4 separate regions of the Homo sapiens genome follow, and all the other regions are linked to region 1. Evidence: promoter capture Hi-C in 16 types of primary human blood cells and fetal thymus (Javierre and others, 2016). All regions are on one chromosome and are shown on one strand. Each heading gives the region's core, a stretch centred on a gene start or on the middle of the fragment in contact. The rest is flanking DNA. Distances are from core to core; before and after follow the strand shown. Region 1 holds the start of CNBD2 (cyclic nucleotide binding domain containing 2). Region 2 has its middle 9.8 kb from the start of EPB41L1. Region 3 holds the start of LOC124904892 (a long non-coding RNA gene). Region 4 overlaps EPB41L1 (erythrocyte membrane protein band 4.1 like 1).

Region 1 (2,931 bases), core at 29-2,528:
CAATCTTGGCTGACTGCAACCTCTGCCTCCCGGGTTCAAGTGATCCTCCCACCTCAGCCTCCCGAGTAGCTGGGATTATAGGTGCCCACCACCTCACCCGGCTAATTTTTTTGTATTTTTAGTAGGGATGGGGTTTCACCACATTGGCCAGGCTGGACCAGACCTTGCTTCTGTTAATTGGATGCTACAAATGGAGAGCAAGTGTACCTGACATTTAGCTACACTGCTTTCTTAAAAAAAAAAAAAAAAAAAAGGCCCTGGCCAGGAGTGGTGGTTTATGCCTGTAATCCCGGCACTTTGGGAGGCTGAGGTGGGTGGATCACTTGAGGTCAGGAGCTTGAGACCAGCCTGGGCAACGTGGTGAAAGCCTGTCTTTACTAAAAATACAAAAATCAGCCGGGCATGGTGGCACACGCCTGTAATCCTAGCTACTTGGGCGGCTGAGGCAGGAGAATCACTTGAATTTGGGAGGCAGAGGTTGCAGTGAGCTGAGATTGGGCCACTGCACTCCATCCTGGGAACAAAGTGAGACAGTGTCTCAAAAAACAAAAAAGCCCTATCTTTGCAGGACAGGTGAGCCCCCAAATTGAGACTTAGCTTAGGAGAGTTCTTGGCTTTGCCCAAGGAAGGAATTCAAGGGTGAGCCAGTGGTGTTAGACAGCAATCTTTTATTGAATAGTGCTTCTCCTTGTGGGGCAGGGCTAACTCATGGGCAATGAATCCGGAGTCGATACCCAGTGTATGAGATGTTGGCAACTGTATTTATGCTCATCTCTAATCCCTTCTCAGCCTTTTGGCTGAGATCAAGTGTAGTATACGCATTCCTACCCACTTTCAATCACATGCAAATTAAGGGGCAGGCTAATGCAAATTAAGGGGCAGGTTAATGCAAATTAAGGAGTGGGTTTTTAGAGTTTTCTAGGAAAGAGGTAGCAACTTCCTGGTCATTGCCAAGACATTTGTACACTGTCATGGCACTGGTAGGAGTGTCTTATGTTAATGAGGGATGGGGACAGCTAGGGGGTCCTAGATCCTGTTTTGGTCAGCAGGGTTGTGCCATTCTCCTGTCTCACCAGGACTCTGGCAGCCATTTAGCTACTTTGAGCCCCAGTCTCCTATGTATGGAGTTGAGTAAAAGTTTGGGTGGTTGTGAGGATTAGCTGAGATAATGCCTGTGAGTATCCCATAAATGTTAGACTCCCACATTCCAATCCCTGTGTCCCCTGCCTCCAGAATCTTTCATTGTGACCTTAGGAGATTCTGAGAATGATTTTTCTCAGAGCAGGGCTTCCAGTAGCTGATGGTATGGTAGGAGGAGTGGAGTGGAGCTCTTGCCTTGTTACTGAGGAAATCTATTTGTTTCTAGTATTACTGGATTTTTGGGGAAAAATTTGTAGTCCTCCCCTTGAAAGGCAAAGGGGCTAGTTGTGCCATTTGCCTGCACAGGAACCATGAGGAGACATATGGTAACTTATGCCTGGCAGCTCCTGAAGAAGGAACTGGTGAGGAGGGGCAAGGGCCCTGGGAGGGAAGAGCAGAAGACTGAACAGACAGGTGTTTTGAGGAAGGTCGATGCAGGTGTAGGAGGGGTCTTGGATGAATGGTGGCCATCCTGTACCTTTTGGAGTCACAGCATGGCACAAAGGAGGGACCCCTGCCCTGTAGCCTACCAGCCCCCCACACTGGGCAAGCCATAAGCCACACTCAGAGCCACTGAGTCCTGTTCTGTACCCACTCTTCCTGCTATTATGAGATCCAGAGAGAACGAGGGAGGATAGAGTCAGGGTAGCAACATTGAGTCATAGGTTAAGCTTGTGAACTCTGGAGCCAGACTACCTAGGTTTAAATCCCTATCACCTATTAGTCATGTGACCCCAGGCAAGTTGCTTGGTTTGCTGTGCCTTTATTTTCTCCTCTGTAAAGTGAGATGATAATACTAGTACCTACTGCATAAATTTACTGATTAAATGATTTACATATCAGAATAGTGCTTTGGATAATGCCTGACAATAGTAAATTGTACTCAGTAAGTATTAATTTTATTCATAAAGTACCTTTCCCCATATTTCCATAGATATCTAATTTTTAAGAAATAGAACATTACAGGTGTAGGGAAAGCTCTTTACCATCCCATGCCCCTTTATTTCTCTTTAATAGTAACCACTTTCCTGAAGTTGGTGTCACCCTTCCTGTTTATATTTTTATATATTATCACATGTGTATGTATCCATAAACAATATATAGTATGTGGCACACTGTTTAAAAATGATACCATAAATAGCATCATAGTTCTTTTTTCCCACTCAAAATCATTTCAGCTTTATCCACATTGACACACACAGACTTAGTGCTGTGTTCAATCCTGTGACTGAACCATAATGTATTGATCCCTTCGATCCCTACTAATGAACATTTGTTTTCAGCCATTCACTGTTACACACAATGTTGCCATGATTACCCTCATGGCTATCCCCTTGTACATGTATGTTTCTCTGAAGAGGACATATAAAGTACATACAATTCTTCCATTGTGAAGTACACACATCCTCAACTTTATATAATGTTGCCAAATTGCTCTTCAACATGGTTGTACCATGTTTCCCAGTTCCCAGTGATAAGTGCAAAATAGTATCATGTTATTACTTTAATTTCCATTTCCATTATTTCTAGCAATGTTAAAAATGGTTTCACAATTTGGCTGGGGCATGAAGGCTCATGCCTGTAATCCCAGCACTTTGGGAGGCTGAGGTGGAAGGATCACTTGAAGCCAGAGTTGGAAACCAGCCTGGGCAACAAAGTGAAACCCCCTCTTTACAAACAATGTAAATATAAATACAAATGAATAAAAACAATATTTTCACAATTTATAGGTAATTTGAACTTTCCCTTTGAATTACCTTTGCTCATTTTGCTATTGGGTTATTTGTATTT
Region 2 (2,826 bases), core at 327-2,826, 180 kb after region 1:
AGATACAAAATACAAAATACACACATATACAGCTAATTTCTTATCGTGGCTGATTAGAGATCATCTAGCCCAAGTCTTAACCAAGGGGATTATCTATCTATCACTCAGGGGGTGATCTATGCATGGGCTTCATGAGCTCTCTTGATACCTGAAAGATGATAAAGGTAGGTATGTGTGTGTGTGAGTGTGACTTTGTGTGTGTGTATGTGTGTGCAGGTGCATACCCATGTACATTTTTCTAGGAGAAGCTCTGCAGTTTTCATTGCATTTTCAAAGGAAATCAGGACCGATAAAAGGTTTTCTTTTTCTTTTTCTTTTTTTTTCTTTTTTCTTTTTTTTGAGACAGTGTCTCGCTCTGTTGCCCAGGCTGGAGTGCAGTGGCGCGATTTTGGCTCACTGCAACCTCTGCCTCCCGGGTTCAAGTGATTCTCCTGCCTCAGCCTCCCAAGTAGCTGGGACTACAGGCGCACGCCACCATCCCTGGCTAATTTTTGTATTTTTAGTAGAGATGGGGTTTCACCATGTTGGCCAGGCTAGTCTCAAACTCCTGACCTCAGGTGATCTGCCCGCCTCGGCCTCCCAGAGTGTAAGAATTACAGGCGTCAGCCACTGCGCCCAGCCCCCTAAAAGGTTTAGAACTGCGCTAGTCCAACCCCCTCATATTACAGGTAAGGAAATTGAATTCAGAGAGGAAAATGACTGCCCAAGATCTCACAGCAAAGGTCAAATCAAGGTTTCTTGATGCCCAGCCCAGCGCCCTCTGCCACACAGGACGCCACCCTCCCCTGCCTGGTTCCTTGAGCCAGGGTCTAGCTACCTACAGTAGGCAGGATCACAGTACCATTTTCCATACCCTCTTGGCTGGCATGGATCCAACTGAACAGGCTTGAGGCTTTCAATCACAGTGGGCAGCTGAGCCCTCACCTCCAGACCTTCCCACTCCCAGGGGAAAACCCATGGGGCATCTCCTGACTCATTCCTTTAGAGGGCATCTTTGCCCAGGACAGTTAAATCTGTCTGTTGACATTCTTATCCTGGTGGGACACTCTCTGATACAGGAAGTGCCTCTGCCTTGTGGGAAAGGAACTGACCCTCGGGTCCTGGAGGACAGGAAATAGAATGGCTGAGTGGGCCTGGGAATATTATATGATGGAAAGGCAGGAGGTCATAGCTAGTGGCAAGAGACAGATGCTGTCTCATTGTATATGGGAGGAATTAAACTGCCATAGGAGTGAATAATAGGACTGATAAGTAACATTTATTGAATACTTACTATAAGTTAGACACTCTTCTAAGATATTTACATGTATTAGCTCCATTAATCCTTATAATAACTCCATATGGTTATTATAAGGAAACTGAGGCACAAATAGATTAAGCACATCTAGGAAACAACTGAGCCAGGATATGAAGTCAGGTCCTCTGACTCCAGAGTATACATCACTCTGGAGCCAAAGTGTAGGCTCCTAGCCTCTATGCTGGCAGACCTGAAACTCCAGTGTGCGTTAGAATCACAGGAGGGCTGATGAAAGCACTGTTGCTGTTCCAAACCTCCTAGTTTCTGACTCAGTAGGTCTGTGTGGGGCCTGAGGATTTGTGTACTTAAGAGTTCCCAGATAAGGCTGGGTGCGGTGGATCACGAGGTCAGGAGTTCAAGACCAGCCTGGACAAGATGATGAAACCCCCGTCTCTACTAAAAATACAAAAAAATTAGCCGGTTGTGGTGGTGGGTGCCTGTAATCCCAGCTACTTGGGAGGCTGAGGCGGAGAATTGCTTGAACCTGGGAGGTGAAGGTTGCAGTGAGCTGAGATTGCGATCACACCACTGCACTCCAGCCTGGGCGACAGAGGGAGACTCCATCTCAAAAAAAAAAAAAAAAAAAGAGTTCCCAGATATTGCTGGTGTTCCAGGGACCACACTTTAGAATCATCCCTGTTTCCTGATAGGAAGAGATGAACAGAGGGAAAAGAAGTGGTGACTGATCTCACCTGGATTATTGCAATGTCCCACTGTGGTTCCAGGCTTCTCCTTCACTCCGGTCACTGAGTCTTCACCAGGAGCAAATTAATTTTCCTAAAGCCCAGCTCTAATTATGCCTCTGCTCAAAGCTCTCTGGATCCTCTGACACTATCCACCATTGCTGTCCACTAGAAATGTCTGTAGTGATGAAATGTTCTACATCTGCACCGTCCAGTATGGTAACCACTAACCACATGTGGCTATGAGTTTTACATTTTGTTCCATTAAATTTAAATTTAAATAATCACATTTGGCCAGTTGCTAGACAGTGCAGTGCACTTGGTTTGTCATTCAAGGCTCTGCTTGGCACCAGCTCCTTTCTATCTCCTCAGGGATAGCCTCAACCCTCAGTATCCCAGGCTCCAGGTCATATGCAGCGTTTCCTGATTCTACCTTGTAATTCCCAGCACTATGGCTTGTGTTATGCTCTCTCCTCAGTCTACATTGTCCTTCTGCCCTGCCTTTAATGCCCAACCCACATATGACCTCTTCCTCGAAACCTCCTTTGACACCTGCTGCTCTCTAATCTTTTTCTCCTCTGAACTCCCCAACACTCTGTCCTCTTCTTACAACCTTTAGTGCTTTCTGTTTTACATTGCAGTTGGCTGGTGTGGGTACTTTCTCTTACTAAACTGTGAGCTTTTGGAGGATGTGACTGTTTTCTGTAGAGAGCTCTTGCTTCCTACTGTAGGTCCCTCCAGGTACACAGAGGAGTTCGACAAATCCCACAAACCTTTGTACTGGCACACTGGGGATACAGAGATCGGTACCATAACTTCCCTGTCCTCAAGCTGCTCACAGGCTTC
Region 3 (2,933 bases), core at 386-2,885, 230 kb after region 1:
ATGGAGTGCACCATGGCAGGGCCTTGCCTTTGGGTCATCTCTCAATACCTGGCCCTTGCCGGGATGGGGTGGGCATGGGAGTGGGCATGCTGCCTGTCCTGTACTCTCCCCAGCTTTGCCCTGCTTTTCCAGAGGGGCACTCTGTCCCCTAGAGGACTCAGGCCTCCTTTTGCACACTCTTAATTTGCCCCTCTGACTGGGATCTGGATCTGCACCACTCTCTTCCTCCTCAGAGCATGACCAGGTGTCACCAACAGCTCTAGGAGTGTGAGGTTCAAGTGTGTCCCCTTCCTATTTCCCCATGCCCCACTCAGGTGCACACACACAGTCCCAGTATCTGTGTGTACACGCTCATGCAGGATTGCATGACCTCAGCCTCACACTCACTTAATAACAGATGTATGCACCCGTCACCCTTAGATCCATGCACACAGATGTGCAAACAACATGCACACACACAGGTGTGTGCACACACAGGCCAGGGAGAGCTTCCTCTTGGTATAGTTGTTCAGCAGGTTTCTTTCCGTCTACCTTGTGAGCACAGGGCCTTGAACATGCTCCCACTGACAGCGAGAGCAGGGAACTCCATTCTCACATCCCATCTGCCCAGTGTGGCTCTGCCCACTTGGCCTCTAGTTCCCTTCTCTGCCTTCCTGGGACAGCACCCTGCTTCACACCTGTACCTTCTTCTGACTACCTCACTGCCCTGCTGGTGGCCCACCCAGCTGCCCTGGCCTCCACTTGGTCGAGTGTGCGTGCTCTGGGCTCCTTGCTGGACCAAGCCCATCGTGGTATCTCTAATCCATCTGCTCTACTGACCCTGCTGCTTTCTTTCCCTCCTACCACATCCCACTAGCCGGAGCAGGAAACCACGCCGAGACACAAGCAGGAGGTACTGCATGGGACCTGTCCCTCCCTACCCAGCCGTTCCCATCCCTAGCTCATTTGTCACCATCCCACAGTCCATCCCAGGCTCACTTCCCTGGCACCATCTCAGCTTCAACTTCATCTCTGCTCCCCAGCCATCCCCCTCTGCAGCCGTCCTTGCTCCCCACTCCGCCACCCGCTAAGCTTCTCTCTCCAGCTCCCTTCTTAGACTCTCCTGGCCAATCGGCCATCTCTCCCTCCTCCCTCAGCCCTCCCACCCTCTCCCCAGCTCACCCGGTCCTCCATACTTGCAGCTCACCTGCTGACCATCCCACCTGCACCACCAGCTCTTCCAGGCCATTCTGTGCTTTCATTTAGCACATCTCCCCTGACCCACCCCTTCCCTAGATTCATCTCCTGCCCGACAGCACTGTTTGGTCTCGCCTCCATCTCGTCTGTGTCCCCTGTGTCCTCACCCCTAGCTTCTTTTTGTATCTATTGGCAGTCAGATGTGGGAGTGGGGATTGGGGGTGGGGGAGGGAGGTGCCTCAGAGCACACCTGCATCTGCCCCAACTCCAGTCCTACACCTCCCCCAGGCAGGGTCGACTACTGCTCCGCTATGGCAAAAACCTCCTCCTTTTCTCCTCCTTTCCTCGTCTTCTTCCCATTTGTTGCTTCCCCCAAATTATTCCTTCCATGTTAACCACTTCTTCCCTCTCACACAGTCACCAACTCTTCATCTGAACTTTAACTGCAAGAGAAGTGGGTTTATTCTTGGGCTGCCAAGGTAAAGGGCCAGAGACTGGGACATAAGAAGAGCCTTGCCTTGGAGTCCTGAGATCTGGGTTTCAACCCCACTTCTGCCACCAACTCTTTGAAGGTCTTGGGAAATTCCCCTCAGGCCCCAGTCCCCTGTCTGAACAGCAAAGCATTCAGACTAGGTTTCTCCAATGCCCTTAACCTTTAGGGATCCCAGGACCCCAGGATCCCACTGCTCCCTACAGCCTTCAGGGACATAACACACCCACGGAGGCAGTGGGGCAGGTTTGTGATGGAAGACGACAAGCCACATCTCAGGTTGGGACTCACTACCCATTGCAGCCCAAACCCTCTCCCTGTGCAAGCACCATCAGGTTTGACTTCTCAGACAGCCATGGTCCAGAGGGCAGCTCAGCTTGGGAAGGGATGCCCGAGGAACAGACAGATGTCTGGAGGGAAAGCAGGAGCCTCACTGGGATTGGTTTCCTTCCTGAGGTAGCTTAGGAGTCAGCCATAGTGGATCCTTGGGTACCAGAGATGAGCCCAGGGGAAGATTCTAGCTTTGTCCAAGGGTAAGCTTACCTTCCAGTGGTTCTTCCAGAATTACCTGATCTGACTTTAATAAGCTGAGATTGTCCATTTCTTGTCCTGAATTGAGTTAACATGAATTTTTAAGCAGCCTTGCAGATAAGCGTCCTTGGGCTGCCAGCCACCACTTTGCCCCAGAAGTAGCCAGATAAACAGCTTTTGGCAGGTCCCTGCCAGCTCCTGCACAAAGCTCGTCCTCCCTTGACCTAAGGAGATGACTCTGTCATGCTGCACTGGCTGGGAACACTACCCATATAGGTAGAATCCTACAACTCTGGCTATACCTGGCTCAATTCTTGTGCCCAGCTGTGGGACTTACTGCTCTTCTTCCTGGTCTCTAATTCTCCTAATCTTCCTGAACACTCCACAGCATTCTAGTTTCTCTATCTGGCTGTATCTCACCCTGTCTGCTATTGGTGAGTCAGTACCTGAAAGGTATCTGGAAGGTCCAGGGTGGTTGGGGAAGGTAGTGTCCCATCACAGAGGAGACTAGATGCAATTTTTTCCTGCCCCTGGTCCCTAGTGTGGGAGCTTGGCCATTCTTCTGGATGTCCCTGGCTTGAGGAGGATCTGTACTGTGGGCCTCCCCAGGGCCTGAGCAGTTGTGCATGTTGGGCTAGGAGGGGCCCAGACTGGACATCCTGTTAAGTACAGTGGCCCAAGTCTCAGCCAGAAAGTGGACACTGGGATCCAGGAGGGATCTAGGAGGCACCTGAAT
Region 4 (2,700 bases), core at 33-2,532, 190 kb after region 1:
TGACATCTTTTTATGTCAGTAGATATAAAATCTATCTCAAAAATTTTTGCAATAGGTATGTTATACTTTCATAATTAAATTTTTAATGGATAAACCCTACTAATTTGGCCAGCCCCCCTGTTGATTGACATTTGAAGTTGTTTCCAATTTTACGGTATTCTAAGTAACGCTAACTGAACTCTAACAGTATTTAGACAATTAGTGAAAATCAAGTGAGAGAAGGAGTCAGAAACCATGAGACCGTGAGAGTTGCCCTCAAAGGTCTGCTGCTTCTCCCTTCTCCTGTTCCCTCCTCTCCTCACTGGAGCCTGGGGGAACTGGTCTTGGAGGAGGCCATCTCTCTGTCACCCTCAAAAGGTGGTGATGTCCCAGGGAAAGACCCTTTCTTTCACCCACCCAGTATGGAGCTCTCCTAGGAAATTTTCAAATTCTCTTAGGATGCTCTAAGCTGCTGCTTGGGCTGTGCAGCTGCCCACACCCAGACTGTCCTTGGACAAGCTTTCTACCTTCTCTGTACCTCAGTTTGTCCATCTGTCTGGTGGTGATCAGAGCCATTGCTGCCACTGAGTGTCTTCTATATGTCAAATACTGTGCTAGAGCAAGCTTCATGTGCATTATCTGTTTTTCTATTTTTTCTTTTTATTTTATTCTTCTTATTTTTTTGTTTGTTTGTTTTTTGGGTTTTTTTGTTTTGTTTTTGAGATGGAGTCTTGCTGTGTTGCCCAGGCTGGAGTGCAGTGGCAGGATCTCAGCTCACTGCAACCTCCGCCTCCCCGGTTCAAGCAATTCTCCTGCCTTGGCCTCCCAAGTAGCTGGGATTACAGGCACGTGCCACCTGCCTGGCTAGTTCTTGTATTTTTAGTAGAGACAGGTTATCACTGTGTTGGCCAGGCTGGTCTCGAACTCCTGACCTCAGGTGATCTGCCTGCCTCAGCCTCCCAAAGTGCTGGGATTACAGGCCCAGTCGTTATTCTTGTTTTTTTAAAGACAGCCTGTCACTCTGTCACCCAGGCTGGAGTGCAGTGGCATAGTCACAGCTCACTGTGACCTCAAACTCCCAGGCTCTAGTGATCCTCCTGCCTCAGCCTCCTGAGTAGCTGGGACTACAGGTGCACCCCACCATGCCCGGCTAATTTGGGGGGGGCACAGGGTAAAGACAGTGTCTCGCTCTGTTGCCCAGACTGCTCTCAAACTCCTGGGCTCAAGCAATCCTCCCTCCTTGGCCTTCCAAAGTGCTGAGATTACAGGCGTGAGCCACCACACCCTGCCTATCTCATTTAATTCTCACTATACACCTTGGAGGTGCAGGGGATAGTCTTCTCAATAGAGGTTAAGTAACCTGCCCAAGGTCACCAAGCCTGTGGCATCAGGATTCCAGCTCTGGCTCATAAGCCCATGTCTGTAACTGCTGTTTCCTGCCCACTCTCAACAGTGGCTAATTGGTGAGGTCCAAGCAAAATGATTATAAAAAGATCCTTTAAGTTGTAAAGTGCCCTGCATGTGGGAGGGATTGATACTGCCGTTATTATTTCTACATCCAGAGCAACAGTAGCTTTGGTTATATGGCTTACAGCAAGTTGGAGGTCGTGGGATGTAGCAGCATTGAGTGGGGAGAGCACTGGACTGTGAGCCAGCAGACTTGAGTCCTAGTCCTGGCTCTCCTTGAAACTGACTAGCCATGTGGCCTTGGCCACTAAGCCGCCTGGGAAATAAGCTCACCTACTCCGTGTGGCCCTTGTGCAGCTCAAATAAGATAAAGCCCAAAAGACAGCCAGCATGTTGCCCAGCTCTCGGAGGATACCCTGCTAACGGGAGGTCTCTCTCTGCCTTCTGCATCGTCATCAGGATGGGCCAGGTGGGACGCATGTCTCCGTTTTAATGCTGTTACTCTGCAGTTCTGTGCTGTCACGTGGTCCCCAGCCCACCACTGCACATCAGCCTGAGGCTCCCTAGTGGCCCGTGAAGCTTTTGGGCAAGAAGCCAAGGCTGATGGGTGGTGGCCTTTTCACATTGTTTGGTCTAAAGTGGTGTCCGTGGGTACTGCAAACCTCTGACGAATTGCCGTCTCCCCACTGCCATGTACAAATCCAAGCACCAGACAGGATGACTGCAGACTCAGCTCCCTTTTTGATCCTTCTTGCCTGGCTGTGAAAGTGGCTTGAGGTCTCAGAGGCAGCTCTCTCAGCCTGTACCCTCCATCCTTTCATTCACGTCCATGTAGACATTATCACTCAGGGAAGTGAGTGTTCCATACTGGGGAAGTCCCCTTGGGAAGGAAGTCACATCATCTCCAGCAAGTGAGAGAAAGAATAAGCCCTAATAGGCACTCTTTCTGTTTTTTTTTTTTTTTCTTGTAATTCTTCTTTTTTCTTTTCTGACTCCGAAAGTAATACATGCTCATAGTAGAAAATTGAAAAATACGGAGAAAAAGGCCCCTATTTCCTTCTCCAAGGGAAGGCTATTGTTAACATTTTAGTCTTTGGACTTAATTGGAGAGTAATATTTCTGGAGCAAATATTTCTAATATTCTGGTATGTGTTTAGTGTTTTACAGGCATGATCTGATTCCATTTTCACAGTAAGCCTGTGAGGTATGTAAGTTTATCATCATGACTTTACAGATGAAGAAACTGAGGCACAAAGAGGTTAAGGGGCTTCCTGACGGTTCCCTTGCCTTCCTTGACTTCTTAGCTTATTCTGC

The links. The method cuts DNA at HindIII sites, captures the fragments that hold promoters and counts their contacts. A CHiCAGO score of 5 or more calls a contact.
Region 2: a contact is called between a fragment that was not itself captured here and the fragment with the promoter of CNBD2 in region 1, in 3 of 17 cell types (M1 macrophages, megakaryocytes and endothelial precursors). The highest score is 5.8, in M1 macrophages.
Region 3: a contact is called between a fragment that was not itself captured here and the fragment with the promoter of CNBD2 in region 1, in 1 of 17 cell types (endothelial precursors). The highest score is 5.9, in endothelial precursors.
Region 4: a fragment that was not itself captured here is called in contact with the fragment with the promoter of CNBD2 in region 1 in 1 of 17 cell types (endothelial precursors); the score reaches 5.4 in endothelial precursors.

The regions. Positions count from the first base shown.
Region 1 is chr20:35,967,312-35,970,242 of GRCh38, forward strand. It overlaps CNBD2 (cyclic nucleotide binding domain containing 2), which reads left to right and starts at 1,279. Exons shown (of 12, transcript NM_001365709.1): 1 at 1,279-1,502. The coding sequence starts at 1,452. It also overlaps the pseudogene LOC124904982. The HindIII fragment of the contact is 7,355 bases long and covers 1-1,809 here.
Region 2 is chr20:36,143,532-36,146,357 of GRCh38, forward strand. It overlaps a transcript of EPB41L1 not described here. Among named protein-coding and RNA genes, the nearest start is that of EPB41L1, 9.8 kb to the right of the region's middle. The HindIII fragment of the contact is 6,985 bases long and covers 1-2,826 here.
Region 3 is chr20:36,194,473-36,197,405 of GRCh38, forward strand. It overlaps EPB41L1 (erythrocyte membrane protein band 4.1 like 1), which reads left to right. Exons shown (of 22, transcript NM_012156.2): 13 at 857-892. LOC124904892 (a long non-coding RNA gene) reads right to left here and starts at 2,473. Exons shown (of 3, transcript XR_007067571.1): 1 at 2,210-2,473. The HindIII fragment of the contact is 1,133 bases long and covers 1,070-2,202 here.
Region 4 is chr20:36,160,795-36,163,494 of GRCh38, forward strand. The region is part of intron 1 of EPB41L1 (erythrocyte membrane protein band 4.1 like 1); the gene reads left to right. Among named protein-coding and RNA genes, the nearest start is that of EPB41L1-AS1, 6.4 kb to the left of the region's middle. The HindIII fragment of the contact is 1,362 bases long and covers 602-1,963 here.